Regions from separate parts of the Homo sapiens genome. Here region 1 is linked to region 2. The links are contacts of gene promoters, found by promoter capture Hi-C in blood cells and fetal thymus (Javierre and others, 2016). All regions are on one chromosome and are shown on one strand. The core of a region is centred on a gene start or on the middle of the fragment in contact, and the rest is flanking DNA. Distances in the headings are between cores, read along the strand shown.

Region 1 (6,080 bases), core at 179-2,678, 240 kb after region 2:
TGAAACCCCATCTCTTTATTTCATGTATTTATTTATTTATTTTTGTTTTTGAGATGGAATCTTGCTGTGTCATCCAGGCTAGAGTGCAGTGGTGCGATCTTGGCTCACTGCAACCTCCGCCTCCCGGGTTCAAGCGATTCTCCTGCCTCAGCCTCCCGAGTAGCTGGGATTACAGGCACCCACCACCATACTCAGCTGATTTTTGTATTTTTAGTAGAGACGGGGTTTTGCCATGTTGGCCAGGCTGGTCTCAAACTCCTGACCTTGGGAGATCCGCCCACCTCGGCCTCCCAAAGTGCTGGGATTACAGGCATGAGCCACCGCACCTGGCCAAAACCCCGTCTCTTTAAATAAAACAAAATAAAACAAGAAACCCAGGCAGGCTTGCCCACTGTATGATCCTGGCAGCAGGCCCAGGCCACGAGCAGCTGGGACCAATAACTGCTTCCCCTTCAGAAGTTCTACATTCCACGAGCTCCCAGCACTGCTACCAGCTCCCCCAGACAGCAGGCATCTGGCCACATGGGGTGTCTGCTAAAAAAGCCACTCTTGGCTGGGGTGTGGTGGTGCACACCTGTAGTCCCAGCTACTCAGGAGGTTGAGGCAGGAGAATCGCTCAAACCCAGGAGGCAGAGGTTTCAGTGAGCTGAGATCACACCATCATTGTACTTCAGCCTGGGTGACACAGCAAGTCTCAAAAAAAAAAAAAAAAAAAATCCTGCCAGTTCCCACCCAGGTGCCGGGCACTGTAGCAGAAGGAACATCAGGCAACGCACCTGCCCTCATGGCCACTCACCTTCTATACAGTCAAACAGATGCAGGAATTAGAGCTCTGTATAATTCTAGATAGGTTGGGGAGATCCATTGCTGGTGAAGGGTCAGGGAAGGCCTTTCGAGGTGACATTTGGGCTGAAGCTTGATAGAGGACATCTCAGGAACACATCCAGGCCGACAGCACAGCCAGTGCACAGGCCTGGGGCAGCCACACGTGATCTGTGTGGAAGCAAGAGGAGCGAAGCCCGGACGGCTGGAATGGAGTGAGCAAGGGGAGGGCAGGAGCTGAGGTGCAAGGAGGAGCAGGGCCTTGTTGCTTCATAACATTTAAGTCCAAGGAATATCCAGAACAGTTTTTTGTTTTTGGGTTTGTTTCTAAATCTCTGCTCTTAATGTTTGGGGGATATCCAGTGTTGCTTATTTCTCACGACTCTGCCTCAGGGAGTCCAGGTGGTCCAGAACTTGAACCACCTGCCTAGGCCTAGGCCCATCTGCCTAGTTCGGCCACCATTGCCCAAAACCTTGCCCAACATCCCTGGGCAAAGCTTGGTGTTCAGCCCCCCAGGCCTCGGACACCCAGGAGACCACCTTGGGCCTCTGTCATGCATGGAATTACCCTTCCTTCCAACCTGTATCATAGTAAAGTCTTCTGCTCCAAGGAGTAAACACCTGGCTTTCAGGGCCCAAGATGGAGGGACGTTGGTTACCCTTGATGTCATCATGCACCTGGCCTCTTCCTCTCCTGCTCTGTTATCCTCTGTGAGCAAGCTTCAGTCTCCAGCTTATGGCCTCATGGTTGCAACACGGCTGCTGTGGCACCCAGCAGCACACCCTCAGGTGGTGTCTCCATTTTGCAATTGTTGGCTTTCCTGCAGCCCTGACTGAAGTGCCTGGCATAAGCCTGGAAGCGCAGGAGCTAGAAGCTGCCCCGATAGTACTGCTATGGGGAGGCTGAGGTTAGATGTGGAGTGCAGGGGGCTCACAGAGGGTGACAGCAGGAGAGGAAGAGGCCAGGTGCACAATGACATGAGGGTCAGAGGCCCAAGTTATTGGTCCCAGCTGCTGGGTGGCCTGGTCCAACCAGGAGCAAAGGCACAGAGCAGGGCACCCTCTAGGGCAGCAGAAAAGATGCAGATCTCTCCCAGGGGTCTCCCTGGGAGACTCATCTGGGGTCAGATGAGTCCCAGGCAACAGGAATGGAGATTGCTTTGATGTGCTTGGACCATCTCTCCTGTCCTGGGCATGTTGCAGCTCAAACAAAGAGGTTCTCTCAATAAGAAAGGCAAGTGGGCTGGTAATCAGAGAGGATCCAGCATGTCTGCCACTTCCCTCTTCCAAATGCCAGGCTCTGTCCTGGAAGGACCATACTTTCTCCATACTTCTTAACCAGGATAAACCACCTGGTTAAGAAGCCACTGCTGGTGGTGCAGCATGTGTGCATGTGGTTTGTGAGCTGACAGGGTCCCAGCAGAAAGATGACAGCATGCTTAGATGGGATATTCCAAAGAGTTTAACCAAGGGATCATTTGCAAAGGAGCAGCAGGGACTGGGAAACCACCGAGGCTGGTGCAGAACCCCAGGACTGGCACCCTGGGAGCTGTTACCACCCCCAGGCCACAAGGCACAAAGAGAAGGAACAAGAACCCAAAAGAGCAAATCCCAGGGAGAGGGTAGTGCTGAGGGAGCTGCAGCCCTGACTCCCACACAGGACGGAGTGAGAATCAACACCCTGACCTTACTCCCCTCCTGCAGGGCACCCCATTGTCCAAATCCTACTGGAAGCCAGAGTGCATAGAAGCCCAGGTGACCCCGCCTCCAGTCAACCTCCTAGGCCATGGAGCAGGGCAGAACAGGACTGAGAGGGTTCCTGGGGAACTGGGTCCCTGGAAGGAAAACAGTTCATCTTTCACTGCAACTCCCCCCCTGCTTCTACCCCCACATCTACCCTTGGCCTCCCCATAGCAGTACCATCAGGACAGCTCCTGGGTCCTGAGCTGCCAGGCCCGTGCCAGGCATCCCAGTCAGGGCTGCAGGAAAGCCAACAATTGCAAAATGGAGACACCACCTGAAACCCCATTTTGCAGATGACCCACCTGAGGCCTGGATGTTTGCCCAGAGGAGGGATTCCTCGGCAGGATGCAGTGGCTCATTCCTGTAATCCCAACACTTTGGGAGGCCAAGGCAGGCAGACGGTTTGAGCTCAGGAGTTCAAAACCAGCCCTAGGCAACATAGCAAGACTCCACCTCTACAAAAAATTTTAAAATTAGCTAGGTGTGGTGGTGCACGCCTGTAGTCCCAGCTACTTGGGAGGTTGATGTGGGAGGATCACTTGAGCCCAGGAGCTTGAGGCTACAGTGAGCTGTGTTCACTCCACTGCACTCCAGCCTAGGTGACAAAGCAAGGCCCTGTCTCAAAAAAAAAAAAAAAAAAAAACCTTCCTAACCAATCCCTGCTTATATGTCTGCCACATGCCAGGCCCCATGCTAAGCATTCTCTCCATGTGAGCTACATGGATCTTCAATACAAACTGGGAAGAGGGAGATTCCTTAGTCTCATTTTCCAGGTGAAGAAACCGAGGCCCAATGAGAAATGACTTGCTCTGGGTCCTGCAGAGAGCAAGCGGAAATGCATGGCCAGCAGACCCTCAGCACTGCCACCCTTGCTTCCCCAAATGAATTGGCACAACTGACTCTCGGGCAATGTAAAGAAATGAAGAAATACTCCTCTCACCAGCAAGCCTTGTACAGATGTCCCCCTCTGACTAGAACACCCTCCCCTTTCATCTGAAACCTTTCAGCGCTTATCCAGGAAGCCATCCCTGTACCCGTAGCCTGGATCAGGAGCCTGTTCGGGTCCCCAGGTACCCCTCTTTTCCCCATCATGGCTGGGTCTCTGCCTCACTTGCCTCTCACTGTCTTGGTCATTCTGGGCTGTCACTGGTGTGCCTCCTTCATGGACTTACGCGATCATTTTCAGTAAGCTAGGTCTGGAGCTTAGAAAATTGTTTAGTTGCCAGGCGCAATGGCTCACGCCTGTAATCCCAGCACTTTGGGAGGTTGAGGCAGGTGGATCACTCGAGGTCAGGAGTTTGAGACCAGCCTGCCCAACATGGTGAAACCCTATCTCTACTAAAAATACAAAAATTAGCCGGGTGTGGTGGTGCGCACCTGTAGTCCCAGCTACTTGGGGGACTGAGGCAGCAGAATCGCTTGAACCCAGGAGACGGAGGCTGCAGTGTGTGGAGATCGTACCACTGCACTCCAGCCTGGGCAACAGAGTGAGAATCTGTCTCAAAAAACAAAACAAAACAAAACAAAAAAAATAAAAACAGGTTGGGCGCGGTGGCTCACGCCTGTAATCCCAGCACTTTGGGAGGCTGAGCCGGGCGGATCACCTGCATTTAGGAGTTTGAGACCAGCCTGGCCAACATGGTGAAACCCCATCTCTACAAAAAACACAAAAAATCAGCTGGGTGCAGTGGTGTGCCCCTGTAATCCCAGCTACTTGGAAGGCTGAGGCAGGAGACTCACTTGAACCCAGGAGGCGGAGGTCATAGAGGAGCCAAGATCACGCCATTGCACTCCAGCCTGGGCAACGAGCAAAACTCCGCCTCAAAAAAAAAAAATTAAAAAACAGAGCTTGGATTGCTTCTTAGTCTTCTGGCTAAGAATCAAGTGTAAAACAGCTTGGCCAGTGTGCCGGGGTAGGGTCCTGGGAGCCCCTGGCTGTGTCAAGAGACCCCCTTTGGGCCAGGTGCGGTGGCTCATGCCTGTAATCCCAGCACTTTGGGAGGCCAAGGCAGGCGGATCACTTGACGTCAGGAGTTCAAGACTAGCCTGGCCAACATGGTGAAACTCTGTCTCTACCAAAAATACAAAAATTAGCCCGGTGTGGTGGTGCATGCCTGTAGTCCCAGCTACTCAGGAGGCTGAGGCAGGAGAATCGTTTGAACCCGGGAGGTGGAGGTTCCAGTGAGCCAAGATGGTGCCACTGCACTCCAGCCTGGGCAACAAGAGTGAAACTCCGTCTCAAAAAAAGAAAAAAAAATAGGAGACCCCCTTTTACTTTCCAGACTGTGGGAGGGAGGAAGAGTGTTGTCCCAGGCAGTAACTAGGGGCTAGATTATTAACAAACTAGTATTTTAGTGCCTGCTACACCTGAACAGTGCTTCTGGCTGAATGTTAGCCCTGGGAATCTGAAGATCAGAGAGGTGGGGCATCCTACCTGAGGATGCACAGCCTGGATCCTCATTTTGCCCTGATTTATCCAGATCTGCTGTCCTCCCTGCACCCTACAGAGCAGGGCAATCACAGCAGGGGGCCCCTTCAGTGTCCTCAGACAGCTGCTGTGATTTGAATAACCAGGCAGGCTGCTGGATGTCCCCTGGTGACTGATTTGCCTGGCAAACAGACCCTCAACCCCTGGGAGACAGTCCCCCTGGGGCCTTGTTTCTTCTTCCTATCCTCAAAAGCTCCCCAGGCCCATCTCCCCTTGCCTGGCTCTGCTTGGTGGTCCTAGTGCTTGTCCACCCCTGGAGGCTGGATGGTTCCCTCCAAAACCTGGGAGAAGATGGGCAGGTCCCCAGGCAGGGGTAACCTGAGCCAGCTTAGTCCACTCCCAGGGCCAGCCAGGAAATTTGCATGAAGAGAATGAGGTTCCTCAGAGGCTTCCCCTCCTTTCCCACCAGGGATAGTCATCCTGGGGCTGAGGTCTGACAGCAGGTGGAAGCAGCCCCTGTGTGTGGAGAGCCTTCCGGAGGGCATGCCCCGCGCCTTCCTGGTCAGGAGTCGGCGTCCACAGCCCCCCAACTGGGGCCATCTGCCTGACCAGCTCCGGGGAGATGCCTATATCCCAGGTGGGCCCCTCACTGTGCCTGGAGGTAAGGGGCAGGAGAGACGCAGTGTCACCATCTGGCTTTTCTCCTCAGACTGCAGCAGCCTGGGGGGGCCACCGGCACAACAGTCGTCCAGTGTCAGGGATCCGTGGACAGCGGTGAGTGTGTAACTGGCTAGCAAAGCCAGCTGTTTCGCTCCTGCCTGCTCTCAGCCTTAATGAAGCTGACAGCCCCTTGCTCCCCCGACCCATCTGCACACGCCCTCCAGCCTCGGGACCTGTCCGCCCCTACTTCTCTGTGTTGGGAATGCCTCTCCTTTCCTAGTAGTGAGCTCTCTACTGTTAGGTCTCACCCCAGGCACCAGGGCCGGCAGCCACAGGGATCTCTTCCAGCGGGGCACAAGATTCATCCCCACATGTGGATGATCCGCTTTATGTCAGAACATGGGACAAGGCAACAGGAGTGCGATGG
Region 2 (6,057 bases), core at 3,502-6,001:
GAGTGCAGTGGCGCGAACTCGACTCACTGCAAGCTCCACCTCCCGGGTTCACACCATTCTCCTGCCTCAGCCTCCAGAGTAGCTGGGACTACAGGCACCCGCCACCATGTCCAGCTAATTTTTTTGTATTTTTAGTAGAGACGAGGTGTATACCGTGTTAGCCAGGATGGTCTGGATCTCCTGACCTCGTGATCCGCTCGTCTCGGCCTCCCAAAGTGCTGGGATTACAGGCGTGAGCCACCGCGCCCGGCCAAGGGCTCTAGTCTTAACAGTGACCCCACACCCAAATGTCACCCAAGTCCATGCCCCTGACCCAATTATTCCCTAGGCCCAGTATGTCCCCACAGCCCGTTTTTGTTGTTGTTGTTGTTGTTGTTGTTGTTTTTGAGATAGAGTCTTGCTCTGTCGTCCAAGCTGGAATGCAGTGGTGCAATCCAGACTCACTGCACCCTCCACCTCCCAGTTCAAGTGATTCTCGTTCCTTAGCCTCCTGAGTAGCTGAAATTACAGGTGCCTGCCACCATGCCTGCCTATTTTTTGCATTTTTAGTAGAGACAGAGTTTCGGCATGTTAGCCAGGCTGGTCTCAAACTTCTGGCCTCAAGTGATACTCCTGCTGCGGCCTCCCAAAGTGCTGGGATTACATGCATGAGCCACTGTGCTGGCTTCTTACAGCCCTTTTATTGTCCTGAGTGCAGTCCCCAGCTCTTGGGTGCTCTTACTCCCTCCTGCCTGGCCTCCACTGGCTGGCTGAAGGTCCTTGGGGTCTGGCATTGGGGCGGGGGGATCCTCTGACTATTCCCTCTCACTAAGTTCCCTACCCCAGGGCCCCATTGTGCACACTGACCACAGTGATCTGGTTCTGGAGGAGGAAGGGACTCTGGAGACCAAGGTGAGTGTTGAGAGGGGTGGGGCTCCCTTCACTGTTGGGAGAGGCGGGGCTCCCTTCATTGTGTTTCCGTCTCTCTCCCACGCCTGTCCCCTCCTTTTTCCTTCTGTTGTCCTCAGAGTTGGGACTCAGCTCCCCACCCCACTCCTCCTGCCCCCTGGGCCATCTCACTCAGCTCCCAGCCTCAGTTTGCCTGTCTGCAGACTCTTCCCACACATCTGTCCCAGCCCTAGCCTCCATCTGGAGCCCCAGACCAGGGCTCACCCTGCCTGTGCTCTCCTCATCACGGTCAAGCCCCCTTTCAGCCACCAGGTCCTACACTGGCCCCACATCTCCCCAGACTGGTTCTTCCTCTGGGGTCCTACCTCAGGACAGCCACATTGACTCCAGGCCATCCCCAGGCCAGAGCACTTCTCTCTCTCTCTCTCTCCTGCGTACCTAGCACATGCCATTCTCTCTCTTCTTTTTTTTTTTTTTTTTTTTGAGACGGAGTCTCATTCTGTTGCCCAGGCTGGAGTGCAGTGGTGCAATCTCAGCTCACTGCAACCTCTGCCTCCTGGGTTCAAGCCATTCTCCTGCCTCAGGCTCCCTAATAGCTGGCTAATTTTTCTTGTATTTTTAGTAGAGATGGAGTTTCACCATGTTGGCCAGGCTGATCTGGAACTCCTGACCTCAAGTGATCCGCTCGCCCCAGCCTCCCAAAGTGCTGGGATTACAGGCGTGAGCCACTGTGCCCAGCCGACATGCCATTCTCTTGGCCTGAAACACTCCTACCTTCCTTCCCATGTCTACCTAATTCCTTCCTTTAGTCCTCCAGTCTCAGCTCAGACATTTCTTGTTCTAGGAAGCCCATGCTTCCGTCATGACAGCTCGATCATTTTGCCTGTGTTCCACCCATCACAGCCATGACCACTCTGATCTGGGCTTCCTTATCCCACCCACTATGCTGAGGGCTCTACCATCACAGCCCCTGTCATTGCCTATGCCTTTCCCAGGCACAGCCCTGACCCCTCTGGGTACTGTCTCATGATCTGTCATTTTTCCTTTGGTGTGGGATTCTGTGAGGACAGGGTCCAGTTCTATCCTAGTGACATGCCTTGTAGCAGCAACACAGGGTGTGACACTGAATCAAAGCCTAGAGGCTGTTGGGCAGGTGAGTGTCTCTCTCCTGTTCCCTCTGCACCTTCCACACCGACACCCCTCAGCAGGCCTATATCCCTCCGTCTCTACCTTTCTCTGCCTATGTCCTATCCATTTGCCTCTTATCACTGTTCCTCTGTCTCACTTTCTCTCTCTCCCAGTCCATGTGTGTCTCTGTGTCTCTGCCCACTCCTGTCTCTTTTTGTCTCTCTCAAGGTCTGGTCTATTTCAGTGTGTCTCTCCATCAGTGACCCTCATCCCCCCTGCACGCTCACAGACTTTACTGAGTCCCATTTGTCCCCTCAGGACCCAACCAACGGTTACTACAAGGTCCGAGGAGTCAGTGTGAGCCTGAGCCTTGGCGAAGCCCCTGGAGGAGGTCTCTTCCTGCCACCACCCTCCCCCCTTGGGCCCCCAGGGACCCCTACCTTCTATGACTTCAACCCACACCTGGGCATGGTCCCCCCCTGCAGACTTTACAGAGCCAGGGCAGGCTATCTCACCACACCCCACCCTCGAGCTTTCACCAGCTACATCAAACCCACATCCTTTGGGCCCCCAGATCTGGCCCCCGGGACTCCCCCCTTCCCATATGCTGCCTTCCCCACACCTAGCCACCCGCGTCTCCAGACTCACGTGTGACATCTTTCCAATGGAAGAGTCCTGGGATCTCCAACTTGCCATAATGGATTGTTCTGATTTCTGAGGAGCCAGGACAAGTTGGCGACCTTACTCCTCCAAAACTGAACACAAGGGGAGGGAAAGATCATTACATTTGTCAGGAGCATTTGTATACAGTCAGCTCAGCCAAAGGAGATGCCCCAAGTGGGAGCAACATGGCCACCCAATATGCCCACCTATTCCCCGGTGTAAAAGAGATTCAAGATGGCAGGTAGGCCCTTTGAGGAGAGATGGGGACAGGGCAGTGGGTGTTGGGAGTTTGGGGCCGGGATGGAAGTTGTTTCTAGCCACTGAAAGAAGATATTTCAAGATGACCATCTGCATTGAGAGGAAAGGTAGCATAGGATAGATGAAGATGAAGAGCATACCAGGCCCCACCCTGGCTCTCCCTGAGGGGAACTTTGCTCGGCCAATGGAAATGCAGCCAAGATGGCCATATACTCCCTAGGAACCCAAGATGGCCACCATCTTGATTTTACTTTCCTTAAAGACTCAGAAAGACTTGGACCCAAGGAGTGGGGATACAGTGAGAATTACCACTGTTGGGGCAAAATATTGGGATAAAAATATTTATGTTTAATAATAAAAAAAAGTCAAAGAGGCAAGTGTGTCTTAGGGAGTCTACTGGCATTATCACTCTCCACCAAGGAAGGGGTCCCTTAGACCTGTCCCAAGGTCCCTCCTCTACCCTAGCCTATGAGGTGGCTGTAGGAGTAAAACTGTGAGCCACCTCTCAGCCTCTTGCTACCTGCAAAGCACTCTAGGCTCTTTTTTTTTTTTTCTTGAGACAAGATCTGGCTCTATGGCCCACATTGGAGTGCAGTGGCATGATCTCAGCCCACTGCTACCTCTGCATCCTGGGCTCAAGCCATCCTTCCACCTCAGCCTCCCAAGTAGCTGGGACTACAGGTGCATGCCACCACACCCAGCTAATTTTTGTATTTGTTTGTAGACAGGGTTTCACCATGTTGGCCAGGCTGGTCTCAAACTCCTGACCTCAAGTGATCCGCCCACCTAGGCCTCCCAATGTGCTGGGATTACAGGCATGAGCCACTGTGCCCAGCCATGGGCTCTTTTAATATACATCTTCACACACACACACACACACACACACACGCACACACACACATGAGTTGCAAACAGAAAAGACACACACATAGGCATGTATGCACAGACACACGCATAGATGTCCACACAGTTGCACACAAGTGACAGGGCTGCCCCAGGGGTCCTGGGGAAGACTGAATTCTAACTCTCATTAGAGGAGACAAACAAGTGAGCCCTGAAGTGGAGCAGGGAAGGGGAGACTATGGGTAGGAAAATGGCAATCCCCTGGTCCTTACAGCAAGCGTGGAGATCCAGACCCTAATCCTGAGGTGCTGCATCCACAGTGGGCATGGTGCTGGTGCCTGCTTGGATGATCCTTAAAGAAAGGTCCTGGGGGCTTTGGTTCATGGATCCTTGAGCTAGGAGTTAAAGGTCCAGGCCCCTGGGACCCTTGGGAAGCAGAGCAAGAAGAGTGAACTCCTGGGTCTGAAGGAGAATGGGCTGGGGGCTTGGTCTCTGGTCCTGAGAGAGAAGGTGCCCAGACTTCTGGATCTGAAAGAGGAAGGGACTAGGTCTCAACTGCTGCCTTCTTGACTGGGGACATTTTGGAGGCCTGTATTCCTGAGCCCTCAACAGAGGAATGTACTAGGGGATGGGGGTCTCTGATGCTTGCATCCTTGGAAAAGGACAAAACTGTGAGTGTCTGGGTCTAAAGAGGGTGAGAGTCCTGCGGGAGGACTCAAAATCCACAACGGGCGGAGCCCATAGCCGGACTCCTGGCTGGGCCCTTCATGGGGCGGGACGCCTGGAATCTCGAGGGGCGGGGGCCTGGCGCAGGCTCCCGCCCGGGGTTCCCGAGCTGCTCCACTCTGCGCGAAGCCGCCACGCTATTGTCCTGACCAGGAAGGCGGGGCCGGCGCGGGGCGGGGCTGGCGGCGCCGGCGCAGCCCGGGGGCGGCGGGAGGAGGAGGTGGCGGCGGTGGCGCTGGGAGCTCCTGTCACCGCTGGGGCCGGGCCGGGCGGGAGTGCAGGGGACGTGAGGGCGCAAGGGCCGGGACATGGGGCCCGCCAGCCCCGCTGCTCGCGGTCTAAGTCGCCGCCCGGGCCAGCCGCCGCTGCCGCTGCTGCTGCCACTATTGCTGCTGCTTCTGCGCGCGCAGCCCGCCATCGGGAGCCTGGCCGGTGGGAGCCCCGGCGCGGCCGAGGTGAGGCCGGGCCGGGTCCTGGGGGATGGGGGAAGGGGCGGGACCGGGTCTCTGGACGCCGGCGCGGACATGTCCAGGGCAGAAAGCGCGGTCTTTCCAGCCAGGTGGTCAGCCCCCAGGCGCCCCCAATCACATTTATGAACCCAGGGTTCCAGGCCCCAGCTCCCCCATCATGCGACGTCCCAGCCCCCTCCCATCTCGAGCATAGGAACTGGTCTATTCAGAGCCCCTGGTCCCAGAAGTCCAGCCCCCTCTCCAGACCCAGGTGACTCGGCCCCAACCCCCTCCCGCCTGGACATAGGACCCACCAAGCAGCGAGGCATTTAGATCCAATAATCCAGACCCCTTGTATTCTCTGGACCCATATGGAGGCCCTTGCAGCCTCCCAGGACCCAGGAGTCCAGTCCTTCAGTCACCACCCACCCCAACCAGATGTAGCTCTCCAGTCCTCAAGGACCTGGTGTCCAGGACTGTAGGCCCCTGAAGCCAGGCCTTGTCAGCTTTGCATCCTGCAACGGGAGCCTGAGCAAGGGATGGAGGGAGGAGGGGCCAGAACTCCTGGGTTCTGGCCTCCTCCTCCGCGATTCAGGTTTAACCCCTTCGGGCTCCAGAGCGGCTGCGCTGGGGTGGGGGCGGAGTCTGTCTCCGCGGCAACAAGGCAGAAAGAATCCCGGGGGACCCAGGTCGCCATAGCAACGGGAGCGCTGGGGCGCCCCCGCCCTACGGGAGCTGTTTCCCAGGGAACGGTGCCTCCATGGAGGCGGTGTGCGGTGCTTGGGGGAGGGGGCTGGTGCTGGGGGTCTCGGTCCTAGGGAGCAAAGAACCAGGGGACCCTCATGCCAACGCCCCCCGAGCCCTCACTGTCCTTTCCACTTCCATCCAGGCCCCGGGGTCGGCCCAGGTGGCTGGACTATGCGGGCGCCTAACCCTTCACCGGGACCTGCGCACCGGCCGCTGGGAACCAGACCCACAGCGCTCTCGACGCTGTCTCCGGGACCCGCAGCGCGTGCTGGAGTACTGCAGACAGGTGGGCGGGGCCGAACGGGAGAGGCGGGGCCGCCCATAGAAAGCTAGACTTGAAAAAGGCGTGGTCCAG

The links. Contacts are between HindIII fragments. The CHiCAGO score rates a contact against its expected background, and 5 or more counts as called.
Region 1: a fragment that was not itself captured here is called in contact with the fragment with the promoter of APLP1 in region 2 in 1 of 17 cell types (naive CD8 T cells); the score reaches 5.2 in naive CD8 T cells.

Annotation. Positions count from the first base shown.
Region 1 is chr19:36,105,667-36,111,746 of GRCh38, forward strand. OVOL3 (ovo like zinc finger 3) reads left to right here and starts at 5,477. Exons shown (of 4, transcript NM_001302757.2): 1 at 5,477-5,630; 2 at 5,703-5,767. The coding sequence starts at 5,537. It also overlaps a transcript of WDR62 not described here. RefSeq lists enhancers at 5,076-5,706, 5,707-6,080. The HindIII fragment of the contact is 223 bases long and covers 1,318-1,540 here.
Region 2 is chr19:35,863,823-35,869,879 of GRCh38, forward strand. APLP1 (amyloid beta precursor like protein 1) reads left to right here and starts at 4,752. Exons shown (of 17, transcript NM_001024807.3): 1 at 4,752-4,961; 2 at 5,845-5,988. The coding sequence starts at 4,815. It overlaps LOC107985317 (a long non-coding RNA gene), which reads right to left and starts at 5,535. Exons shown (of 4, transcript XR_001753932.2): 1 at 5,270-5,535; 2 at 4,053-4,308; 3 at 2,665-2,771. KIRREL2 (kirre like nephrin family adhesion molecule 2) reads left to right here. Exons shown (of 15, transcript NM_199180.4): 14 at 826-891; 15 at 2,335-3,314. The coding sequence ends at 2,670. RefSeq lists silencers at 4,573-4,832, 4,923-4,992. The HindIII fragment of the contact is 13,044 bases long and covers 1-6,057 here.